Regions from separate parts of the Homo sapiens genome. Here region 2 is linked to region 1. Evidence: promoter capture Hi-C in human tissues and cell types (Jung and others, 2019). All regions are on one chromosome and are shown on one strand. Each heading gives the region's core, a stretch centred on a gene start or on the middle of the fragment in contact. The rest is flanking DNA. Distances are from core to core; before and after follow the strand shown. Region 1 holds the start of PMEL (premelanosome protein). Region 2 holds the start of ERBB3 (erb-b2 receptor tyrosine kinase 3).

What was found. Contacts are between HindIII fragments. The study calls those that stand out against the background at their distance.
Region 2: a contact is called between the fragment with the promoter of ERBB3 here and the fragment with the promoter of PMEL in region 1, in 2 of the 25 tissues and cell types used here (aorta and mesenchymal stem cells).

Annotation. Positions count from the first base shown.
Region 1 is chr12:55,964,785-55,970,631 of GRCh38, reverse strand. PMEL (premelanosome protein) reads left to right here and starts at 4,590. Exons shown (of 11, transcript NM_001384361.1): 1 at 4,590-4,696. The coding sequence starts at 4,621. CDK2 (cyclin dependent kinase 2) reads right to left here and starts at 3,802. Exons shown (of 7, transcript NM_001798.5): 1 at 3,508-3,802; 2 at 2,698-2,775; 3 at 2,463-2,583; 4 at 1,684-1,854; 5 at 1,056-1,157. The coding sequence starts at 3,623. RefSeq lists an enhancer at 4,032-4,111. The HindIII fragment of the contact is 17,930 bases long and covers 1-5,847 here.
Region 2 is chr12:56,077,215-56,083,095 of GRCh38, reverse strand. It overlaps ERBB3 (erb-b2 receptor tyrosine kinase 3), which reads right to left and starts at 2,931. Exons shown (of 28, transcript NM_001982.4): 1 at 2,714-2,931. The coding sequence starts at 2,795. RefSeq lists enhancers at 2,284-3,274, 5,099-5,148. The HindIII fragment of the contact is 14,559 bases long and covers 1-5,881 here.

The DNA of each region.
Region 1 (5,847 bases), core at 3,341-5,840:
AGCACCTAGCATGGTGCTGGGTACCCACTAGGTGCTTAACAAATATTTTTTGATGAATTGAGAGAGGAATACGGACAATTGTAAGGTAATGCACTGGGGGGATAAATGCACATTACATATGTATAGGCTAATGGTCTTTAAGCTCTTGGTTACAACCAAGATAAAAGACAATAAAACATATTGCTGATTTGAAGACAGCCTACTGCACCACTGTACTGTTATATTAAAGGAGATGGGAGCTTCTACATAAAGCCAGGCTTCAAGGATCCTTCAGTCTGAAAAGCCAGAGGTTGAAGGGGAACATGATCTAAATCTTTTTTTTTTTTTTTTTTTTTTTTTTTTTGAGATGGAATCTCATTCTGTCGCCCAGGCTGGAGTGCAGTGGTGCAATCTTGGTCACTGCAACCTCCATCTCCCGGGTTCAACCGATTCTCCTGCCTTGGCCTCCCAAGTAGCTGGGATTACAGGTGTGTAATCCCAAGTAGCCACACCTGGCTAATTTTTGTATTTTTAGTAGAGACAGGGTTTTAACATGTTGGCCAGGCTGGTCTCAAACTCCTGACCTCAGGTGATCCACCTACCTCAGCCTCCCAAAGTGCTGGTATTATAGGTGTGAGCCACTGCACCCTGCCTAAATCTGCAGTTTAAATGAAAGGTGTGGGTAAAGTGACCACAGTTGTCTTCACTACATTGCTGGCACCATACAACAAGGTCTACAAGCCTTGAAATGAAGGCCTGAAATAAAAGAGGCACTAAATGGAATCATTCTCCCAAATATATGCAGACTACAGCTAAAACAGCTGCAGAAATGCTTTAACTTATTTCAGGGATAAGAGATGTATACCAGGTACTAAGGCTGTTTGAGGATATCCTAACACTGTGGTTGATATCAGGGCAACAGTTGCATCCTTTCCCACCATTCCCCTTGGTGCTACTTTAGAGAGAGAACCCTGTGATAGAAGGGCCATAGGTCTGGGCCAAGAAGCAGTTCTGTTGTTCTTGGATGTGGGGAGGAGAGGGAGGGGGCTGGGTGGAACTTGGGCAAGCCTCCATACCATCTCAGCAAAGATGCAGCCCAGGCTCCAGATGTCCACAGCTGTGGAATAATATTTGCAGCCCAGGAGGATTTCAGGAGCTCGGTACCACAGGGTCACCACCTGAGGGACGGGAATAGGGAGGGGCGGGGTGGTTTATAGGGTATGGAAATTCCCGCATCTCAGTTCCTCAACACTACTCTGCTTACTCTTGGCCTCTTAACAAGCAGTTTCCTTCCCTCCATCATCTTTCCCCTCCCACTGATTTCCAGTCCATAGTTCTGGACTGAACCCCTAATTTGAGATCTTCCTGGAAAAACTTGAGACAAATTGGTCATAATTTTATTTCTAAATTTTTTCTTTTTGTAGATTTGTAGAGATGGGGTCTCGCTATGTTGCCCATGATGGTCTCGAACTCCTGGGCTCAAGTGATCCTCCCACCTCAGCCTCCCAAAGTATTGGTATTACAGGTGTGGGCCCAGTTAGCAACACAGTATGAATTCCATGCATACCCTAAGACTCTTTAGGATGTCAAGAGATTATTTCTACCTAGTAAGAAACTGTTAGCCAGATATTTTTAGTAACTTTGTGAATACCCTAGTTAACACCTCTTGGGAAGCTCAGAGAAAAAAGACATAAAGGGACTCACCTCATGGGTGTAAGTACGAACAGGGACTCCAAAAGCTCTGGCTAGTCCAAAGTCTGCTAGCTTGATGGCCCCCTCTGTGTTAATAAGCAGATTCTGAGGTTTAAGGTCTCGGTGGAGGACCCGATGAGAATGGCAGAAAGCTAGGCCCTGGAGCAGCTGGAACAGATAGCTCTGACAAAGGAGAAAGAGAGGACTGTGTTTCTCCATTACAGTGAGCAGACTGGGTTTGCTCTGTGCCCCTAAAACTCTACTAAAGCCTTTATTATGTTGGATTATAGTTACATATTTACAAGCTATTTCTCCCAATGGACTGTCAGCCCAGAGAGGATAAGGACCAAGTCTTACTCAATTTTCCATCCCTTTTCTACATCCTGTGCATTGAAAAAATGTTTGTTAATAGATTGAAAGTAGCTCTGGGAGTGAAGAATCCAGCCCTAAAATAGACAATAGGGACTCACTAGCTAGGTCTTCCACCAAATGGAAGGGCTTTTTGGAGGAATTTACCAAGTGCTCTCAAATCCCGTTTATCTGAGTTTCATCTGACCTCCCACCTGAGTTGCTAGGTTGACTCACTAGAGTTTCAACTTTGATTGTTCAGTCCAACCCTAGGGTTAATGAATATAATGAGCAGGGAAGGAGACACAAAAAGAAGGGGAGTGTGTGTGTATAGGAGATGAGGGCTCAGAAGGAGGCCAAAATCATAAAATATCACCCTGAATTGCCTGCCACCAGTCCCCCAAGACATGCCCATGATGAGAGGAGCTGATGAGAAGCATTACCTTGATGAGGGGAAGAGGAATGCCAGTGAGAGCAGAGGCATCCATGAATTTCTTGAGATCTTGGTGCAGAAATTCAAAAACCAGGTAGAGTTTATTTTCTGTGTGAATGACATCCAGCAGCCTAGAGAAGGAAAGTTTGAGGAAATGGAGGTGTGTGAGAGAGAGAAATGCCCACACTGTACAGACAGAACTTATCCTCCTTTCCAGCTGGATCACCTCTCAGACGCATACTTACTTGACAATATTAGGATGGTTAAGCTCCTTAAGCAGAGAGATCTCTCGGATGGCAGTACTGGGCACACCCTCAGTCTCACTTGGAGAGGTTGGGAAAGCAGAGATGGGAATATGGTTACAAATATTCCTTTCCCCCCCACCTAGTCATTTCTTTCCCCCAAGGAGACACCACCCAGCACCCCCTAGGAAAGTGAGAGAAGAGAAAGGGTGATGGTAAGAGCTAATTCTTGGGTAGTCAGGGTGTGGTTTTTGGATATATTAAGGCCATTATCTCCTCTTTTCCCAGGGGTAGGTAAGTAAAGCCGCCTGGTGAAGGTGAAGCAGGGAGACTGTAATGGAGGGGAAAAAATGCAGGAGTAGCCCCCAGCCTCCCCAGAGGGGCCAGTGAGGTTCAACTGCCATTCTTTGGAAAGAGGAGAGAATTCTAAGGTGAGGGTGGGGCAGTGAAGAGGGCTCTTCATTCAGAAAGGCGATTCTCGCCGGTTCCCACATAACTCCACTCCATGGAGAGTCTTGGACCTCATCTCAGAGACCTCCTTTCTCTCCCCGAGTCTGTAGTCGCACATTTGGGGGCACGATCCGGCTCAGTTTGGGAAGAAAGTTTTCCATGGATTCCACACCACCCTATACTCTCCCCAGGGAGTATAAGTATACTCTTCACCTTCTACTGGCCCCCAACCCACCTCTCCACTTCTAAAGAAGTCCCTCCCTGCTCTCTTCCGGTCCCTGGACGGCTACCCGCCCGTGGGGGGTTGGGGGGGACAATCAAGGAGGTCCCCAGTTAGGAGTCCCGGGTACAGAGGCCACTCACGTGTCCAGGCGGATTTTCTTAAGCGCCACCACCTCTCCCGTCAACTTGTTTCTGGCTTTGTACACAACTCCGTACGTGCCCTCTCCGATCTTTTCCACCTTTTGGAAGTTCTCCATGAAGCGCCAGCGAGTCGGGTCAGCCCGGCCCTGGAGCGGGGGCCTGGGAACCCTGCAGAAGGCGGACCCTGGCTCTCGGGGGCCGAGGAGGGGGAAACAGGGCCCAGTACCGTGGCCCCGGGTCGGGATGGAACGCAGTATACCTCTCGCTCTTGTCAATTTGGCCAACTTGAAACAATGTTGCCGCCTCCCACCGAGTTCCCGACCGCCACCAGAGGCCCCGCCCCTGCTTCCCGCGTTTCCCTGGCTCCGCCCCCAGGCCTTTCTATTGGTCAACGTCAGAGCCGGGGGGCGAGCCCAGCGCTCCTCCCCGCAAATGATCCCGCCCCAGGCAAGTTTGGTTCTTGGGGGCTAGACAAGTTTCTTCCCCGGTGGGGCGGCTGAACACTCTTCCCAAGTACCTGCTTTGGGTCCAAGTTTCCTACCTATGTCTCTAGTCTGTAGGGATTTCTTGATTTCTAACTCACTATTTTCACCAATCCTGGGGAAAATATGTATCGACCTAAGGTTAAATTCCACCTGGCCCAGGAGCCTCCTTTGGAAACCAGGAAGCCGGGAATCTCGTTGCAAAGGAATCCTGGGCCTCAGAGGAGTCGTTGCCTCTGCCTCATAGCATACCCCGACACTGTCTCTGTTTTGGGATGCAGGGTTCTGTTTCTGTCTTTTTGAGAAGTTCCTGGTTTAATTCACTCTCCCATGATAAACTGTTGTGTCTGGTATGTGTTACGCAGCTGCCTTTCAGTTAGCTCTTGCCCGGGAGTGCATCAAGATGAGAGTGACCCAGTGAAACCAGAAACTGTCATTGAGTAGCAGGATGGGAAAGCAATGTCTAGGGACCAGGATCCCTTTGTCAGTTTTTCCTTTTTCCTCTCCTCCGGCCCCTCCCAGGCCTTCTCTGAGGGAGAAGAGGAAGGGCTATGCAAATGAGCACCCTTTTCTTATATAGGGGCCTATCCCAGTCCCCCCAGTGCCTTTGGTTGCTGGAGGGAAGAACACAATGGATCTGGTGCTAAAAAGATGCCTTCTTCATTTGGCTGTGATAGGTGCTTTGCTGGCTGTGGGGGCTACAAAAGGTATGTGTGGATATGTGGACATGAGCAGGTGTGAACTTGGGGATGAATTCCCCCTGCTCTGGTTTCTGTCCTCCTAATGGGAGATAGCGGCAATATTTCAGGCGTCTCCCACTCATTTGATTTAGTGAGGATGTGGGCACCTGGGCTCCCTCCCTACATGGAGATTTGGGATTTTGCCTGAAAATAATCTCATATGCTTGGAGGGGCAGAAGGATAGAAGGTCTCTGTGGCACTGATTCTGAGGCTTCCTTGGCAGTGAGCTGGAGCACGGGCTCCAAAGGGGTGAAATGTGCAGGAGACTCTTTTAGGAAACGTCTCTTGGGGTAGGAGATTTAAAGTGGGGAGTCAGAGAATGTGGTATTGGGTAAGAACACTAAGGAGATACAATCCTCTCCTCTTGGGATGGGTACGGGTGAACACAGCCCAGACCTTTTGTTCTGGGGCTGGAGAGATAGGCAGAGGGGTCTCAGCTGAGCATCACATGAAAGGGCTCTGGGGGATTGGGCCTCGTGACAGGAGCAAGGGGCGGGGGTGGGGTGGTGAGAGGGTCTGGAATGTCCCGTGCTGCTCTGAGGAGAGTTGGAAGTGGAGAAAGAATGGGGTATCTTATGACTTCTCTTGTTCTAGTGGTGGGATGCTCAATAGATGATTCCAGATCCTCCCCCAGCAGAATCAACTAGGGTTACAGCACACATTAGAAAGGGAATGAGGCCGGGCGCCGTGGCTCACGCCTGTAATCCCAGCACTTTGGGAGGCTGAAGCAGGTGGATCACGAGGTCAGGAGTTCGAGACCAGCCTGGCCAATATGGTGAAACCCCCGTCTCTACTAAAAGTACAAAAATTAGCTGGGCATGGTGGCACATGCCTGTAGTCCCAGCTACTCAGAAGGCTGAGGCTGGAGAATCACTTGAACCCAGAAGGCAGAGGTTGCAGTGAGCCAAGATCACACCAATGCACTCCAGCCTGGGTGACAGAGCGAGTCTCCGTCTCAAAAAAAAAAAAAAAAAGAAAGGGGATGAGGCCCGGCACAGTAACTCATGCCTGTAATCCTAGCACTTTGAGAGGCTGAGACGGGTGGATCACTTGAGGTCAGACCAGCCTGGCCAATATGGTGAAACTCCATCTCTACTAAAAATACAAAAATTAGCTGG
Region 2 (5,881 bases), core at 1,682-4,181, 110 kb before region 1:
CTGGCAGTGCTGGGGTGAGGGGGGGTCAATGGGAGCTTTGTCTTTAAAGCTGAAAGATAAGGAGCTAGTTGCCTCCCCGCCTTCCTAAACTCAGGGTTTCCTTCTCACTCTCTCCCCCATCCCAACACACTCTAGCAACCTCAGCATCACTTTCCAGCCCTAGAGTATTTTTCAGCAAATACAGAGGAACCTGGAGAGAGATAGTAGCAGATGCCCCATATTGAGCCTCCACACAATTTCATTGTTAGAAGAGGTTCATGAAAAAGCCTTTCACCATGGCAATCCTCACCCACACTAGGGGAGAGCCTAGACTAGAGGTACATGGCATGTCAGCCTTGGGAGTTCACTCTTCTTTGCAAATGTGGTGGACAACGGGCTATGGGAAGTCCTGGACTCTGAAGCCCTACCCCAGTCTCTTTCCTCTGGTTCAGGGAAAGACCATGTGTGGGGTGGGGAGTAGGGGGTAGATACCACCTGTTCCAGCCACCCTTCCCTGAGGCGGTGGTAGCTCAGTGGGAGGCAACAGTGGGAATGGAGGGAGGGAGACTGGTGAGGCCCCAATCCCTCCTATAACATACACCCCTAGTCTGACTTCTTGACCTTGGAGGGCTCCTTATCACTCCCCATGAAGGTTGGCTAGTCCCAGCAAAGAGAGCTAGTTCCAGAGGAGCTGGGAACTCCAGGGTCCTTGGGTTGAAATGAAAGAGACTAGGAAGGTTAGTCATTTCTGGAACAGCCCCACCCCAATCCCCTTCCTGGCAGGATACCCCCTTTCCCAAGTTATAGTGCCAACACTTCTCCCCAGATAAGGGAGGAGCCAAGCTTTCTGCACAGGGAAGTAGTAGTGTGGGCACACACATACACACACAATGTACACACGAACACGTACACATTGGTCCTGCTGGCTCAGGAATCTATAGTTGGGTTTCCTTGCAGGAAGTATTTCAGGTGGCCCCATCTATCCCACGTGCCCATAAGTGTTTGTGCAGACTTTGTGTCTGTGCTTGGAAGGCTACAGTGTTAGAGGTAGCCCAGTTCCCTGCTACCCTGAGGGTAAAGTCCATATTACACAAACAGGGGGCAAAGGGCCTGGGCAGGAAGGGAGCACAAACAACACCTCTGGGGAGGAGCTAGGCAGCTTGGGGAGCAGGGCAGGGGAAGGGAATCATAAAAATCCCTGCTGTACCCAGGAACCGGGAGCATAGGGAGGGGCAGTGTCACAGGCCCTCCTTTGGTAGAGAGCACTAGGGGTGGGATAGAGCCAGAATCTCCAGCCCCTCCTCAACCAGAGGCCTCCCCTCCAACATCCCCCACCCCCATCACAGCCAGGACAAAGGGGCTATAGAAGGACTGAGACAGGGCCGGATGCCCAGAGGCTGCAGGACCCAGATAAAGGGTAAAGAGACCCAACCATGCCTGCCTCCTGCCTCCCCAGGGAGGGTGGCCAGACTCTGGTACTCCTGGGTTTCTGGGTGAAGATTGCAGGAGTCTGGATGGGACAGTTATACAGTCACTCCACTGCTCCCTCCCACGCCAGTCCCCAGACCACCCCCCTCCACCAGCTGGGAGTGTTCACATCTAAAAATCCCAGGATCTAAATTTAGGCCCAGCAACTGTGAGGGAAGCACAGGTGGTTTCTTCCACTCCCACACTGGGGAAGGGGCCCTGGCTGTGCCAAACCCCAAGCTGAGATCTGAGGGGAGGGGAGGAGATCCACAGAACTTCAGTCCTCAGGTGTCCACGGTCCCAGAGACACCCCAAAGGGGTGGGCTCAGATAGCATGGGAGTCGGGGGAGGACTGGAGAAGAGCAATCCGGGGCTCTGTCTAGGGTCCTAGAGACAGTGTCAGACAATAAGCAAAATGGGGGCGGGAGGCACAAGCTGAGCCCAGGAAGGACTCCCCAAGGCAGGAGGCTTAGAAAGTAGCAGAGGTGCCCTCTTGATCCTCAGGTTGGGGAGAGAAAAGACCAGAGGCTGGACATCCTTGCCCTTACAGCTCCTGGCCCAGGGCCTTGTGTATAGTAGATGCTCAATAAATATGAGTTGTGTTGACCTGGGTCTTGACAAAGAGATGTTGCTTAAGCTCTGCTATACTGAGGAAAGGGGGCGCCAGCCTCTGTTGGGCCTCCTGCCTGATGTCACCTGAACTTGGCCCTCTGGTTAATCTCAGACCTCCCCAGGGCAGGCTCACTCACGGAAGAGGAGGTGCCGCTCCTGTTTTTCCAACACCAGAGAACAACAACCCCCTCCAACCTTCTGTAGCTCCGCCCTGTCGGCAAAACAACGAAACTAGGGGTAGCTGAAATCGGCGCGGGTGGGGGGCAGGGGGTTGGCGAGCAAACCGAGACCCTTCCCGCCAAGGCCCCCACCTCCAAGCACCTCCTGTTTACAGAATGAAGTTCCCTGCTCCCCTCCCTGCAGGGCCCCTCAGAAGTGTGAACTACTGTTTCGGCCTCAGCCTCTTCTGGGGAGACCAATTAGAGGGTCGGCGACGCTCTGGAGAAGGGTGGCGTGAGGGTCCCGGAATGCCGCCCTCGGCCGGACCACGCCGATAACCCGAGCCTGACCGCCCCTCTCCCAGGTGGTCCTGGCAAACCGGGGGCAGCACCCACAACCCCGCGCCGCCTGAGACCGTGCCCATACCCTCCGAGGCTGCGCGCACTGGGTTCCGGCTCCCAGGTGCCGAGCCCGCCGGTGCTCTCGCGCCACTTACCTGCCTGAGAGTTGCCCACCTCGGAGCCCCGGGCCAGGCTGAAAAGCAAGCCCAGCACCTGCAGAGCGTCGTTCGCCCTCATGACTCCGCAGAGGGTGAAGGGAGCCCAGCCAAGTCCGGCCCGGGGGCCCCTAGGCTAGGACATCGAGGCAAGAGCCACCTGAACCGCTGGCGAATTGGTGGCTGCTGCGGCGACGGCAGCGGAGGTTGCAAATTGCAATCGGAGCCGGAGCCGGAGTCCGGGGAGGGATGGCAGGGGAGGGGTGTGTGTGTGTGAGAGAGAGAGAGAGAGGGAGGGAGGAACGCAGAGGGAAGGGGGTGAGTCACGGCCGCGCCCCCTCCCGCGCGAGGCTGGAGTAGGGATTGCGGAGCCTCGGACCGCCTGCCCCGAGCGTGCCACGCCCCGCGGTCCCGCAACTTGGCGGAGCAGATCGAGGATGGGGCTCACCCTAATTTTTCTGCAGGAGATAGGCCAAGGGGAGGTCGAGATTCCGAAAGCCCCCAGATCCAGGGAAGGGTAATGAATGAGGGAGTGGAAAGCTCTCCAAAGCCCTGCCCCCTGAAAGTTGGCCTCGCCCATTAACCAAATCACTCAACTCCCCTAGCCGGTTGGTTCACTTGGTGGATTTTCTCTCAGAATGTGAATATTTCTCTCTGTGTGTTTTTGAGGGGGAGGGTGTTTTTTGCCTCACGTCCAGGCCACCTCAGTTTCTCCCAGACTCGAAACCCCATAATTCATCCACCCAGCCCAGGAACCCGAGCCACAGAGACCGCGTGAAATTGCACTGTCTCTGGCCGCTTCCTCCTCCAGACCCGGCGCCGGCCGGGCCTCTCCCGGGGATTTGGATGGGGGGCGGGGGTGGTTTCCAGCCTGGGAACAGACCCCGGAGCCCGCCTTTCCACTTCTACCCCGGGAGGGGCTCCCGCACCTGTCGCCGTCCCCTCTGCTGCCCCCCACGGCCGCCTGGGAGAACAGCTGCCTCCCCTTCCACACTGGAGTCTGGCCGCACCGTCCGGGCGGCCGCAGTTCCCGCCGCTCTTCTGGGGACCCAGATGGGCACACACCAAGGCGCTTACACCCTCCCAGGTGCCTTCCAAGTCCAGGCTCTCGCAGGAAAGGGGATGGGGCAGTGAAGTGGGACGCGGAGAGGACACTAGAGACTGCGTCCACGAATGGCGTGGACCTCTGGAACCTCCCCCACCAGCTGCCCGGACCTGGCCAGAGGCGGTCGGGCTCCCTGCGGGTTGCTGCCCAAAGCCCTGCTAGTCCCGGGACGGATCCGACCGGCGCCGCCTGGTGCCCATCCGTGGCAGTGGAGTCCCAGACGGCCTTGCATTTCAAATCCCTTAAACTGGTATTCGGGATCTCGCCCGGAGAGCCTAGTTGTTTTCTCCAGAACTTCAAGCCTGAAGACTTCGAAAACAGTTGAGCCTTGATAAAGAAAAATTTCACCCCTCACACCTAGCAAAGACTACCGGCTAACATTCCTTAAACATGCTCCCTATTGATATGCAACCTAGAGGGCCTGTTCTCTACTGGAGAATCTCCGCTTTGGGGAGGTTGGCTTTCTCCAGACCATGTGTATAGTAGTCATAATAATAATAGCAACAACAAAACCATTAACATATACAAACATTTCCATATATCATTTCATTTACAAAGTATGTCCTCAAACTTAGTGCCTTAGAGAATGTGTCACTTAACATAAAAATTATATGATTTAGGCAATATAACTCCCCATTTTACAGAACTAGAAGTGTGTGACCTCTCCAAGGTCATCCACCTGGTGACAGTGGTTGAGGTGATCAGGTGATTGGGAGGTGGGGCTCAGACTTTTACCTAGGGTTTCTTTCTCTCTTTTTTTTTCTTTTCTTTTTTTTTTTTTTTGAGACAGAGTTTCGCTCTTGTTGCCCAAGCTGGAATGATCCACCTGCTTCAGCCTGCCAAAGTGCTGGGATATCTTCCATCTTAAAAAACAAAACATTCGGCTGGGCGCGGTGGCTCATGCCTGTAATCCCAGCACTTTGGGAGGCCGAGGCGGGCAGATCACTTGAGGTCAGGAGTTCGAGACCAGCCTAGTCAACATAGTGAAACACCGTCTCTACTAAAAATACAAAAATTAGCTGGGCATGATGGTGGGCACCTGTAATCCCAGCTACTTAGGAGACTGAGGCAGGAGAATCGCTTGAACCCGGGAGGTGGAGGTTGCAGTGAGCTGAGATTGCATCACTGCACTCCAGCTTGGGCGACAGAGTGAGACGCCATCTCAAAACAAAAACAAAACATTGTTTTGTTTGACCTCATGGCCTTCTGGTCTGTTGCTTTTTTTTTTTTGACACGGAATCTTGTTCTGTTTCTGTCACCCAGGCTGGAGTGCAGTGGCCTGATCTCAGCTCACTACTGAGTTCAAGTGATTCTCCTGCCTCAGGCTTCCAAGTAGCTGGGGCTACAAGGCGTGCGCCACCAAGCCCGGCTAATTTTTTGTATTTTTAGTAGAGATGGGGTTTCACTGTGATGGCCAGACTAGTCTCTAATTCCTGACCTCAGGTGATCCACCCACCTCAGCCTCCCAAAGTGCTGGGATTACAGGTGTGAGCCACCACACCTGGCTTTTTTTCCTTTTTTTGAGACAGGATCTCCCTCTGTCACCCAGGCTGGAGTGCAGTGGTGCAATCATGGCTCACAGCAGCCTCAACTTCCCAGGCTCAGGTGATTCTCCCACTTCAGCCTCCCTAGTAACTGAGTCTACAGGTGGGCACCAAAATGTCTGGCTACTTTGTTTATTTGTTTGTTTGTTTTTGAGATGGAGTCTCGCTCTGTCACCCAGGCTGGAGTGCAATGGCGTGATCTCAGCTCACTGCAACCTCTGCCTCCTGGGTTCAAGGCATTCTCCTGAGTTTCGCTTTTGGTGCCCAGGCTGGAGTGCAATGGCTCGATCTTGGCTCACTGCAACCTCTGCCTCTTGGGTTCAAGCTATTCTCCTGCCTCAGCCTCCTGAGTAGTTGAGATTACAGGTGCCTGCCACAACACCTAGCTAATTTTTGTATTTTTAGTAGAGACGGGGTTTCACTGTGTTGACCAAGCTGGTCTTGAACTCCTGACCTTGGGCAATCCACCCACCTCGGCCTCCCAAAGTGCTGGGATTACAGGCATGAGCCACCACACCT